Regions from separate parts of the Homo sapiens genome. Here all the other regions are linked to region 3. Evidence: promoter capture Hi-C in human tissues and cell types (Jung and others, 2019). All regions are on one chromosome and are shown on one strand. Each heading gives the region's core, a stretch centred on a gene start or on the middle of the fragment in contact. The rest is flanking DNA. Distances are from core to core; before and after follow the strand shown.

Region 1 (4,009 bases), core at 1,461-3,960, 330 kb after region 3:
CCAGCATGAGGCAATGTTTTGGTCAGCAACGAACCGCATATGTGATGGTGCTCTCATAAAACTATAATGGAGCTGAAAAATTCCTATCACTTAGTAATGTCATAGCTGTGGTAATGTCACAGTACAAGGCACTACTCACATGTTTGAGGTGATGCTGGAGTAAACAAGTGTACTCCACTGCCAGTCATATAAACATATAGCATGCAATCATGCACAGTACATAATACTTCAGAATGATAGTAAACGACTATGTTACTATAATTACTATACTATACTTTTTATCATTATTATAGTGTCCATCCTCTACTTATTAAAAAATAACTCAACTGTAAAACAGTCCCAGGCAGTTTCTTCAGTCTGTATTCCAGAGGAAGTCATTGTTATAACCGGAGGTGACAACTGTATGTGTTATTGCTCCCGAAGACCTTCCAGTGTGGCAAGATGTAGAGGTGGAAGACAGTGATATTGATGATCCTGGCAAGATGTAGAGGTGGAAGACAGTGATAGTGATGATCCTGACCCTGTGCAGGCCTAGGCTATTATGTGTTTGTGTCTTAGTTTTTTTTGTATTTTTTTTTTTTTTTTGGAGGTGGAGTCTTGCTCTGTCACCCAGGCTAGAGTGCAGTGGCAGGATCTGGGCTCACTGCAAGTTCCACCTCCCAGGTTCATGCCATTCTCCTGCCTCAGCCTCCTGAGTAGCTGGGACTACAGGCGCCCACCATCACGCCCGGCAAATTTTTTGTATTTTTTAGTAGAGACGGGGTTTCACCGTGTTAGCCAGGATGGTCTCGACCTCCTGACCTCGTGATCCACCTGCCTCGCCCTCCCAAAGTGCTGGGATTACAGGCATAAGCCACCATGTCTGGCCAACAAAAAAGTTTTAAAAGGAAAAAATAATAATTTAAAAGGAAGAAAGCCTATAGAATAAGGATTTTTTTAAAATATTTTTGGGTAGCTGTACAATGTGTTTGTGTTTTAAGCTAAATTTTACTACTAAAGAGTGAAAAAATTAAAAATAAAAAAGTGTATAAAGATTTTATACTAAGTTAAGGTTAATTTATTATTGCAGAAAGAAAACTTTTAAATAAATTTTGTGTAGTCTAAGTGTATAATGTTTACGTCTACAGTAATGGACAGCAATGTCCTAGTTCTTGACATTCACTTACCATTCACTTAATGATTCACAAGACCAATCAACTTGCAGACCTTCAAGCTGCATTCATGGTAAGTCCTCTATACAGGTATGCTATTTTTAAATATTTTATACCATATTTTTACTGTACCTTTTCTACATTTAGATATGTTTAGATACACAAGTACTTACCATTGAGTTGCAATTGACTACACTGTTCAGTACAATAACATAGTGTACAGGTTTGTAGCCTAGGAACAATAGGCTATACCATATTGCCTAGCTGTGTAGTAAGCTATACATCTAGGTTCCTGTAAGTCCACCTTATGATGCTCTTGCAAGGTGCAAGATACAAGAACATCATAGAGTGGACCGCCAAGACTCCAGTTGTCCTAAAAGTCTGGTGAGGTTTTTGGTTTTTTCTTTGTTTTTTTTTTTTTTGTAAAATGCTGATTTGAGGATTTCCTGAGAATGATAAAAATTTGACTTTATAAAAATTGATAATCTTTGGAAGGGAAAATATGATATAAGCAAAGGAAAAGAATAAAATCATGCATTGCATAACTAAGCCACAAAATCACCTAACAACCCATTTCTGAGACCATATCACTTGTCACTAAGTGACCCATGACTGTAGTTAACAACTCACCAGAAAAATATTTGTTAATGTATAAAAGCAAATAGTGAATCATATTTAAATAATAAGCACTCCTACAAATAGATTGAAATAATCTGGACAATCCAATAAGAAAGGAAGCAAACGGTATTAAAAAGCAGTCACTGGGGAAAGGTTAACATCTGAATCAATATGAAACCTCTACCATCTCACTGAAAACTAAATACAAGTTCAGAATTCATCATGTTTCCTTTGCATTTTTTTTTTCTTTTTGAGATGGAGTCTCGCTCTGTCACCAGGCTGGAATACGGTGGCGCGACCTCAGCTCACTGCAACCTCCGCCTCCCTGGTTCAAGCAATTCTCCTGCCTCAACCTCCTGAGTAGTTGGGATTACAGGCGCCTGCAACCATGCCTGGCTAATTTTTGTATTTTTAGTAGAGACGGGGTTTCACCATGTTGGCCAGGATGGTCTCAAACTCCCGACCTCAAGTAATCCGTCCACCTTGGCCTCCCAAAGTGCTGGGATTACAGGCATGAGCCACCACACCTGGCCTTCCATGGCTTTTTTTTTTTTTTTGGTATCACAGTGGATTTGCTAAAAACTAGGCAAATTCTTTCCTATCTCTGGAATTCAGTTCTAACAAACGTAAAAATGAATGAGGTAGAAAGATTGTCTCTAAAACTCCTACAGCCCTTTCCACAATGAAAGAGGCTAAAAGATACTATAAAGCTATTTTATTGAAACGTGTGAGATAAGAATAAAAAATACAGAAAGTTAAGATAATTAAAATGAGAGAATAAGGGGGTGCTGAAAATTCCACTGAGAATAGCTGACTTGTCACAGAGTTGTAGAAAATTATCTCAGCCAGATTGCTTCCATCTGCAGTGTCTTCTCTTTGTTTTTGCTTTCACACATTACCTTATGCTGTTCCATCACTCTAGGCTGTCAGGCTCAATCCAATGGACCACCTTTCATGGCCCAGATCAAGTGGATCCATCAAAGTGACCTTATTAGGAAGTTAGCGCTACATCTTAGTTCTAGGCCCAGCAAGGCTACGGAGCACTCTGTGACTGAAAGACCTTCATTCTCCTCTCTGGGACTCAGTTTTCTCCTCCTTAATGTGAGAAGGTGGTTCGTGATAATGTCAAGGGGTACTTCCTGTTCTAAATTGGATGGAAGGCTGTGTAATCAGGGGACATGCTAAGAGCTGATAAACACTAGGTGCCTGTTTTTACCTCCTAGGGCTGACACCTGCTTACCCTTGAGATGGCTGACCCACATGACTGGTTGGAGGAGAGTCTCTCTGTCTCAGTTCTAGACAGGGCATGAGAAGTGGCTTGATTTTTCCTGAGGCTGACCAGTGGCTGCTCTATCGTTCCGTCTTGGGAATCACCATAAAGCCTCAGGGACAAGCAGAGGGCTGCTGGCCTCAGACAAGAAGCCAGAACCCTGCTGGGTTTTGGATTATTGGATCCAGATGGTGGAAACAAAGGGAGGAGAGCAGAGAATATATGTCTTCTCTTGTAATTGAAAACTTGATGTCTGCTAAGCTCATTAAGCCACTGTGACTCACTCAAATGGCATTTTAGAGGACTTAAATGTGCCAGGTGGACCCCAAATCCAGTCATTTTTCCCCTTCTTCTGACTTCCTCCCAAAAGTTGCCCACATAGTCAAATTTCTCCTTAGAAAGCTCTCAGTCAGGGGTGTCCAATCTTTTTTTTTTTTTTTTTCTTTGAGCTGGAGTCTTGCTCTGTCGCCCAGGCAGGAGTGCAGTGGTGCAATCTTGGCTCACTGCAAACTCCGCCTCCTGGGTTCACGCCATTCTCCTGCCTCAGCCTCCCAAGCAGCTGGGACTACAGGTGCCCGCCACCACGCCCGGCTAATTTTTTGTATTTTTAGTAGAGACGGGGTTTCACTGTGTTAGCCAGGATGGTCTCGATCTCCTGACCTCATGATCGGCCCGCCTCGGCCTCCCAAAGTGCTGGGATTACAGGCGTGAGCCACTGCGCCTGGCCTGGGGTGTCCAATCTTTTGGCCTCCCTGGCCCACATTGGAAGAATTATCTTTGGCCACACATAAAATACACTAACACTAACGATAGCTGATGAGCTAAAAAAAATCACAAAGAAACTCATTTATGAATTTGTGTTGGGCCATAATCAAAGCCATCCTGGGCCACATGCAGCCTGCAGGCCACAAGTTGGACAAGCTTGCTCTAGGTAGTTTGGAGGCTCTATTAGAGGGGCTCAAAAACTCCA
Region 2 (4,610 bases), core at 1,887-4,386, 260 kb after region 3:
GATTTTTTTTTTTGAGACAGAGTGTCACTCTTGTAGCCCAGTGGCATGACCTCAGCTAACTGCAACTCTGCCTCCCAGGTTGAAGTGATTCTCCTGCTTCAGCCTCCTGAGTATTACAGGCACACACCACCATGCCCGGCTGATTTTTGTATTTTTAGTAGAGATGGGATTTCACCATGTTGGCCAGGCTGGTCTCAAACTCCTGACCTCAAGTGATCCACCCACCTCAGTCTCCCAAAGTTCTGGGATCACAGGAGTGAGCCACCACTCCCAGCCTTGAGATAGATTGAATGAGTCAGTCTCAGGTTAAGATTTGGTTAGGAGTGGAAGTGTCCTCCACCAGACAGGTTCTGGGGATCAGCATGTGAGTAACCTGTTTTAGAAAAGCTCAATCTTGTGTGTGTCGTTAATCCGCTATGCAGCTTTGGGCCTGGATCTTCTTCTAAGGGATTCAGTCTCTTTTATGCAAGCTGTGGGTTTGGTCTAGGGGTTAGCATTTTCTGTAAAGGACCAGACGATAAGTATTTTAGGCTGTGCAGTAAATATTTTAGGTCCCTGTTGCCATTGTAGTGGAAAGATAGCCTTAGACAATACATAAATTAATGGATGTGTGGCTATGTGCCAATAAAACTTTATGAAAACAGGTAACTAGGTGGATTTGGTCCAAGGACTGTAGTTTGCTGATCTAGAAAACCCTTGAAGTCCTCTTTTTAGTCTTAACATTCTATGATGTAAACATTTAGAACCAATTATGTCAAAGATAATAATGATTATATACTATTATCTTCTTATGACACCCATGGAAGACATTGCTAATTGGGCACAGGGCTCTTTTCTGATGAGAAAGGAGCTGGCTCTAATCAGTCAATCACAGATTGAGCAATCAGTCAATCACAGATTTAAAAAAAACTTAAGCTGTAGCATTTTCCTTTTAATTTTTTTTTTTTTTGAGACGGAGTCTCAGTTTGTTGCCTAGGCTAGAATGCAATGGTACAATCTCAGCTCACTGCAACCTCTACCTCCAGGGTTCAAGTGATTCTCCTGCCTCAGCCTCCTGAGTAGCTGGGATTACAGGTGTGTGCCACACTGCCTGGCTAATTTTTGTATTTTTAGTGGAGATAGGGTTTCACCATGTTGGCCAGGCTGCTCTTGAACTCCTGACCTCAAGTGATCCGCCCACCTTGGTTTCCCAAAGTGCTAGGATTACAGGCATAAGCCACCGTGCCCAGCCCCTTTTCATTCTTTAAGAAATAAATATTTAGAAAACTCCAGATAATTTCTTGAGTGTGGCACTGAGGAAAATAGGAACAAACAGAGAGAGAGAGAGAGAGAGAGAACAGGAACTCTGTGAGAGAAATCAAATTATCCCCTGGGTGGTGGAAGTGAGAACAAAAATCTTGACCTGAGAGTGTCATTACCCATTGGTGGAAATCATAGCCTCCATTTCTCTCTTACCTACCCTACTAAGTACTCCAACTAAGAGTGAATGCACCTGGCTCATAGTAGTTACCTTGTGCATATTAATTTTCTTCCTTTTCTTTTTCCACCAAAATTTGACTGATGATTGATTATGTCCAAGTCTTCTGATCCACCAAAATTCAAACCATGGAGTGACTTTTGTATAAAGGGATCTGCTGCCAGTTGCCTGTTTGGTTGTGGAATACTTAAATACTTCATGTGGGGCCATCGCTACTTGATAATGAGTGGGTCTTTCATGTCTGTGGAAAGTTCCACAAACCTTCACCTTAGGAATGAATGGGAGAATTCCAAGCATGAAGATAATGAGTCAAGAGCTTGGAGTTTGTAGCTAGATGAGCTTTGGTTGAATTTTATTTTATTTTATTTTTTTAAGACAGGGTATCGCTCTGTCCCCCAAGCTGGAATGCAGTGGCACAATCATGGCTCACTGCAGCCTCAAACTCCTGGGCTAAAGCGATCCTCCTGGCTCAGCCTCCCAAGTAGCTGGGACTACAGGCATACGTACGTCATCATGCCTGGCTAATTTTTTACATTTTTTTGTAGAGATGGGGTCTCAATATGTGGCCAGGGCTGGTCTCAAACTCCTACTCTCAAGGAATCCATACACCTCAGCCTCCTGGGCAGCTGAGACAGCAAGTGTGCGACCCTACACTCAGCTATGGGCTGAATTTTAGAGATAATGGTCGCTCTCTTTATAATTAGAAGCAACCTATGCAGACTGGGTAGCAAATAGAATGGGTTTAATTTTTTGCTGTCATGTGAGATCTGTAAGGGATTTTGGGGAATTTTAGGAAGCAATCCTCTAAGATCTCAAATTATCTCACAGCTAAATGTAGATTACAGTGACTGATGAGCTGCTTTCCCCCTTTATCTCAGATTCATTTCAATTCTCTTTAGTGGGAAGGGATACTATTCATTTGTTCTTTTCATTCAGAGTCCCTTCATGCCCTTAATTTCATAACCCTCTGAGAAGGGCTGACTTGTTAGTATCATTTCATTTCACAGCTGAGACAACTGAGCTCCAGAGAGATTTGTGGAGAGCGGAGCTCTTCTTCAGCTTTCATTTGTGAGTGCTTTTCCTGTGTCAGGCACAGAACAGGCACTGGGGATATAACGGTGTAAATATTTCAGGGAACTAAGTATCAGTTGGTTGAACGAGCTGAACTTTTGAGAAAGAAACTGCATTGAGTAATCAGCAGAGTTTCACAATGCCTGAGAGTCCAGTAATGTGAGAATCAGAATTAGCAATGTGAGAATAGAATGTATTGCACAAAGTCTCAGCAGGGAGTCTGTGTCTGGTTTTAGTTCCAGGTCCGGGTAGCACCTTTGCAATTGACCACTTCTTCCCTCTCTCCACCTATAAGGCTAATGGCCTGGGATCTTGTGATGTTTAGGGCTCAGATGGACACTGAGATGGCCTCTTTAATCAACCAACTTCCCAGGCCAATCTCTTCCCTTTCTTTTCTGATAGTTGCTGTGTTGGCCTCATAGCCTTACCTGGCATAGGAAAGATAAACAATCTCCTTGGTGTCAGGATTTCTGGTCTCTGGCTACGTTTCCTGCTTATGCAATAGTAGCTGGGAGAGGCCGAAAGAATTCTGGTGGGGCCACACCCACTGGTGAAAGAATAAATAGTGAGGTTTGGCATTGGCCATCAGAGTCACTCCTGCCTTCACCATGAAGTCCAGCGGCCTCTTCCCCTTCCTGGTGCTGCTTGCCCTGGGAACTCTGGCACCTTGGGCTGTGGAAGGCTCTGGAAAGTGTAAGTTGGAGTCACTCTGGTCTAATCTGGGCTGCAGGGTCAGAGGTGGGGTCTCCTTGTGGTGTGGGTGTGTCCCCTTCTGTAGGCTCTGATCCCTCAGCTTAGTTTCGGGAGACCTCCCTGAGGGTGGAATACATGTCTGGCTGAGCTCCAAGGTTTGTGTGACAGTTTGAGCTTCTGGAAATGCTTCCTCTATGCAGCCATGCTGTCAGCCCAGGTCCCACTCTCTCTCTCTCTCTCTCTCTCTCTCTCTCTCTCTCATACTCCGCCTTCTTCTTCACCTGTCTGCGACTCTCAAATCATTAGTTTCTGACTCTGCTTCCTTGTGTCTTTGCTTCTGCTATTTTGTCTCTGTGCTTCTGCCTTGGGCTTTAGCTCTCAACTTCTCTCACACTGGTTCTATTTATCTTTGTTTACCTCTCTCCATCTCCATCACTCCCAGCCTTCCTCTCTGCCTTTGTGTAGCCTTGTTTTGCTCTTGGGTGGGAGGTCTTGACTAGAAGCCTGCTGCCCTTTTCTTGGGTGTGAAACGTCCCCTGTCCATTTGTCTAATTTAATCAAGCCCATCAATACACCTGGAGATCAGGCAGGCATGACCCTTTGGGCTTTGTGGACAGCTACTGAGGTAAGGGTCTCTCCCCCTCAAAAGTGGTGCTTTGTTCAGGAGGCATGATGGGTCCTCAGTACCCAGCCTCCTCCTGACCTCTTGACTTTCTCTTCAAAAGCCTTCAAAGCTGGAGTCTGTCCTCCTAAGAAATCTGCCCAGTGCCTTAGATACAAGAAACCTGAGTGCCAGAGTGACTGGCAGTGTCCAGGGAAGAAGAGATGTTGTCCTGACACTTGTGGCATCAAATGCCTGGATCCTGTTGACACCCCAAACCCAAGTAAGCAGGTCGGGGAACTGGGTAGAGAGGAGTGAGCCTGGGGACACAGCATTAGAGGGATGGAACTGGGTGATGGGTCCTGCCAGGCCTCCTTGTCAATCCGTCAGTGAGTCACACTGCCCTAAGCAGGAAGGTAGCCAGCAGCTGGTGAAGCAGCGGGCATTTAGATAGCCAGGTAGTTGGAAGCCTCCCACCTAGTCAGCACTGGGTGGCTGGCCACCTGCATCAATGGGGGGCCTGAAGTTCTAGGAGAGCCAGGTGCTATGTTTGGGGGCCGCCTTAGGGAGAAGGTGGTGGTGATAGAGGTGGGGAGGGGATGATCCCCCCTGCTGAAGCTGGAGCAGGGGCTCACTCTAAAAAGTGGGGATGGGAGGGGTTGTATAAAGTACAAGGCCTCTGACCGGTAGCCTCACTCTCACCCAGCAAGGAGGAAGCCTGGGAAGTGCCCAGTGACTTATGGCCAATGTTTGATGCTTAACCCCCCC
Region 3 (4,520 bases), core at 1,702-4,201:
TTGCCCTCCCCTTTCTGGAATTACAATAACACTGCCACCCAGATCTCCTGAGAAAGAGCCAATTCACTGAGTCATGACCAAAGATCCCCAGGGCAACCTGAGTACAGAATGAGCTTTTCAAGGGCCAGGTCCTGTTGCACCTTCCCACAAGGCCTGTTTGGCCAAACGAGTACAGACACACCTCATCAGGCACTGCCCCTCACTGCACTGGATCCTTATCATGCTGTTAATGTTGGAAATATTATTATAATTTTTTAAAAAAGTGTTTGTATCTATTGCTCTTCTGCAGGGTTTCCTAACCTTGGCAAGATTAACATTTGATGCCAAATGTGAGGGCTGTCCTGAGCAGTATAGGGTGTTTAGCAATATCTCTGCCTCAACACACTAGAAGCCAGTAGATGCCCCCAATCAAAAATGTCTCTAGACATTGCCGAGTGTCCTTGGGGGCAGTATCACTCCCTCCCCTGCTTTCCTGAATAGTACGTTTAAAGGCAGCTTCTCACTTCCTGATCCATTGCCCCAGAGGAGGCAACACTGCAGGAAGCTCTCAGCCAAGGATCATCAATAGGCGCCCCCGCCTTTCCTCTGCCTGCACAACAAGTGACAGTCTATTTATTTCTTCCTTCTATCATTATTTTGTTTTCTGATGAACAGATTTGATCACCCAAGAGGGCTAAGAAAGGCGATATCAAGGATAATGCTGGTGGACCCCTCAAAGTGCAAAAGAAGTTATACCAAAGAGATGTTGCAATGTAGGCTTCAGAAGTGCCTTCAAGGAAATAAATGTGGGGTAAACAGCAAAGATCAATAGATAATGAGAGGATCGACCAACAATTGTATAAGCTATAGTTAGAGAAAGCAATGGCCAAGGAATGAGTATCATGGTTCTAGGGAATTTAAAGAAAAGGAAGAGCTATAACTAATGTGCAAAGATGGGGAAAACATTTCTGTAGCAACTAAGTATGCTGCTGATCCAGTTAGCACCCCCATTTTCAAAAAGGCATCATTGCCACACACACACACGCATCCCTTGCAAAAGACATATACCTGTGTGTGCATTCACAATGTGTGAGGCATTTGAATATTTATTGAACACTTGCACCAATTCTGGGAAGTATGCTAAAGCAACATAATTAACCCCAATTTATAGATGAGAAAACTGAGGCTGGAAGACGTTAAATGACTTGCCCAGGTCAAGAGTAGCTGGACTTAAATCAACCCAAGTGTCCGTCACTGGATGGATAAAGAAAATGTGGTATGTATACACAATGGAATACTACTCAGCCTTTAAAAAGAAGGAAATCCTACCATTTGTGACAACGTGGATGAACCTGCAGGTTACGTGAAATAAGCCAGGGACAGAAAGACAAATACCAGGTGATCTCACTTACATGTGGAATCTAAAAAAGTTGAAGTCACAGAAGCAGAGAGTAGAATGGTGGATACCCGGGGCTGGGGGTGGGAAGTATTGGGAAGGTGCTGGTCAAAGGGTACAAAATTTCAGTTAGACAGACGGAATAAGTTGTAAAGACCTATTGCACAGCATGGTGACCGTAGTTAATAACATATTGTACACTTGAAAATTGCTAAGAGAGAAAATTTCTCTCTCTCTCTATATATATATACACACATATATTTCAAAACATCATATTGTACCTCATAAATATATAATGTTTCTCAACTTATGATGAGATTATAGCCTAATAAACCTAGCCTAAGTTGAAGATATCAGAAGTTGAAATGCATTTAATACACCTAACCTACCAAACATCATAGCTTAGCCTTACCTACCTTAAACTTGCTCAGAACACTTATACTAGTCTACAGTTGGGCAAAATCATCTAACACAAAGCCCCTTTTATAATGAAGTGTTGAATATCTAATGTAATTTATTGAATACTGTTCTAAAAGTGAACACAGAATGGTTGTATGGGTATTCCAAGTACTGTTTTTACTGACTGTGCATTGTGTTTGCACCATCATAAAGTCAAACACTGTAAGTCAAACCATTGTAAATTGGGGACTGCCTTTATACAATTTTTATTTCTCAATTAAAAATAAATAATAATAAATATATGATAGAATGCTTCTTGAAAAAGAATAGCTGGACCCATCACAACCTCAAATTTTAAATCTGAGGCTCACTAAATCTCCCTAAAGCATGCTGGCTTTGTCTTTCAAAAAAAATGGATCTCTAGAGAGTCAAGGAAAGGAGACAGTTGGAATGTGCTGGATTCTGGGGGTGTGTCTCTAGAGACCATGACCCTCTGAAGCAAACAAAGCTGGGCCCTCCTTCTACATGGTGCTTTTGATATTTCTATTAAAATATAATGAATCTGCTCCTCCTCCAAGTAGGTGACTGTTTCTGACTTCCAATGTGTTTGTGTGTGTTGTTGCCATAATTTCCTGGGAGCACCCAGATGGGATGGAGGCAGCATCTAATACTTTGCCTGGTGCAGTGTGGGTACTTGATGAATGTTTGTTGAATGAATGAGTGATACGAGGGCACTGAAGCAGACAGACCGGGGTCTCAGTCTTGTCTCTGAAACTTGCTGTCCATGTAACAATGGTCAAAGTAGCATAACCTCCTCTCATCTACAAAATGGGAGTGTTAGTGTTGTGGGATTCCCGTGTAGACTTAAGGGAAGCAATGTGTGAAAACTATTTTGCATGGTGCCTGGAAAAGGAAAGGTACTCAAAAATGGCTGCTGTCTTTTTATTATTGTGAAAAAGGCTTCCACCCTGAAGTGGTACTAAAGTAGCCTGGGTGGCCAGATCAGATAAGGCCAGGAGGAGAGAGGTGAAGCTGTGCTTTGGCTGAACACTCTGTTCCTGAGGCAGCCCAGCCCCATGAAAAGCCTGAGTTAAAGGTGAATGAGCTGGATGTGGGGCCAGGCTCCTCCCCTTGGTCCCTTTTCTCCCTAAAATGGCAACCCCAGGCTGAGCCACTGGCTGAGTGGCACCATGCAGCTTCAGGCCTCTCTCTCGTTTCTCCTGATTCTCACTCTCTGCCTAGAGCTTCGATCAGAACTAGCACGAGGTTGGTATGAAATGTGGGATCTCAAAGAATAGACTGGGAATCAGGCTGGGGGGCGGGGTGGTGGGGGAGGTGATGCAGCACAAACAGAGCCCATTTCTTACCTTACCGGATTGAGAGTCAATTCAGTTCAATTCACTTCATCAGACATATGTTGGGCACATAGTTATGTGCCAGGCACTGTCCTAGGTGCTGAGGTTAAAGCAAAGAGCCTGAGACCCTGCCTTTGTGAAATTAAGATGCTAATGGGAGAGAGACATACAATACCTAATACAAATGATAGATGATCAAAGTGCTATAGAAAATGAAATAAGTAAAGCAGGAAAAGGGGCCTTCAATGTCTGGGGTGGGGCTGGTGGCAGGCAAGGAGAGGTTGGGAAAAGGAGATCAGAGCCAGAATTTGAGAGTGAGGGACTTAGCCAAGTTAGATGCACTTGTCAGAAAAGGCTCCTTCCTGGACCACTTTCTCTGTGGAAGCTTGGAATCTGCAAATGGAAGTGGGGAGATGAAGTGCAGTTATAGCTAAGATAATCTGCTGGAAATGGGGATGGTAGGCAGCAGTTTCCAAGATTTTTAAGCAGCCAGTAGGATGCCCTGTATAAAAATGCATATTAGAATACACAAAAGGGTAAGAAAGAAGGTGAAAAATTATCAAAATCTTACCCTCTGGAGATTATCACTGTCAATGTGCCAGTGAACATTCTTGCATGTGCAAGCATAGTTCTCTGCATGTATGTACATGGAGCTATTAATGATAGATTCTTAGACATAAATGGAACTCTAAACCTCCCAATAACCTTATAGATGAGTGGTTCTCGAGTTTGTCCCCTAGTCTGACAGCAATAGCAGCAGCAGTATCAACTGGAAACATGCTAGTTCCCAGTCCCACCTGATCAGAAACTGTGGAGGTGGGTCTCTCTAACAAGCCTTCTAGATGATTCTGACGCATACTCAAGTTTGAAAATGTCTGCCATAAGTAAGAAGAATGTAGTGGTTTACAGTATGAGCATTCCTGGAGTCAGACACACCTGGGTTCTGGTCCAGGCTCCTCTACTTACAAACTCTGTGCCTCAGGAACATCATTTATAGCCTCTCTGAGCATCAGTTTCTTCTTCTATAAAAAAAGATTAACCATCTTTTCTGCTTTATTAATCAAATAGTCTGATGTATGTCAAGCTCTCAGTATAACTTAGCTCTTAATAGATTCTTGTAAAGCACTTAGAACAGCTTCTGTCACACTCAAAACACACACACAGGGTGTCATTATCTACTTTACATAAAAAAGAAGCAAGTCAAGTGATTTTCCTTTGGTTTAATGGAATGGAAGAGCAGAGAAGCAAGACTGAGAAAACTAAGAGCAGATGGGACTCCAGCCCCTACAGAGTCACCTGTAAGGGTCTAAGGGCCGATGATGCAGTGACTAGGATGTCTTAAGAACATGCCCCTCCACCTCCCACCTGGATTGAATAAGCTATTCTGCCTC

What was found. Contacts are between HindIII fragments. The study calls those that stand out against the background at their distance.
Region 1: a contact is called between a fragment that was not itself captured here and the fragment with the promoter of SPINT3 in region 3, in 1 of the 25 tissues and cell types used here (pancreas).
Region 2: a contact is called between the fragment with the promoter of SLPI here and the fragment with the promoter of SPINT3 in region 3, in 1 of the 25 tissues and cell types used here (IMR-90 fibroblasts).

Annotation. Positions count from the first base shown.
Region 1 is chr20:45,181,110-45,185,118 of GRCh38, reverse strand. It overlaps LINC02597 (long intergenic non-protein coding RNA 2597), which reads right to left. Exons shown (of 4, transcript NR_187568.1): 2 at 1-72. Among named protein-coding and RNA genes, the nearest start is that of LINC02597, 3.1 kb to the right of the region's middle. The HindIII fragment of the contact is 4,169 bases long and covers 626-4,009 here.
Region 2 is chr20:45,253,090-45,257,699 of GRCh38, reverse strand. It overlaps SLPI (secretory leukocyte peptidase inhibitor), which reads left to right and starts at 3,136. Exons shown (of 4, transcript NM_003064.4): 1 at 3,136-3,241; 2 at 3,967-4,125; 3 at 4,549-4,610. The coding sequence starts at 3,157. The region is part of intron 2 of LOC105372630 (a long non-coding RNA gene); the gene reads right to left. The HindIII fragment of the contact is 21,755 bases long and covers 1-4,610 here.
Region 3 is chr20:45,514,053-45,518,572 of GRCh38, reverse strand. SPINT3 (serine peptidase inhibitor, Kunitz type 3) reads left to right here and starts at 2,951. Exons shown (of 2, transcript NM_006652.2): 1 at 2,951-3,040. The coding sequence starts at 2,965. All of the region lies in intron 1 of LOC107987282 (a long non-coding RNA gene), which reads right to left. The HindIII fragment of the contact is 13,872 bases long and covers 1-4,520 here.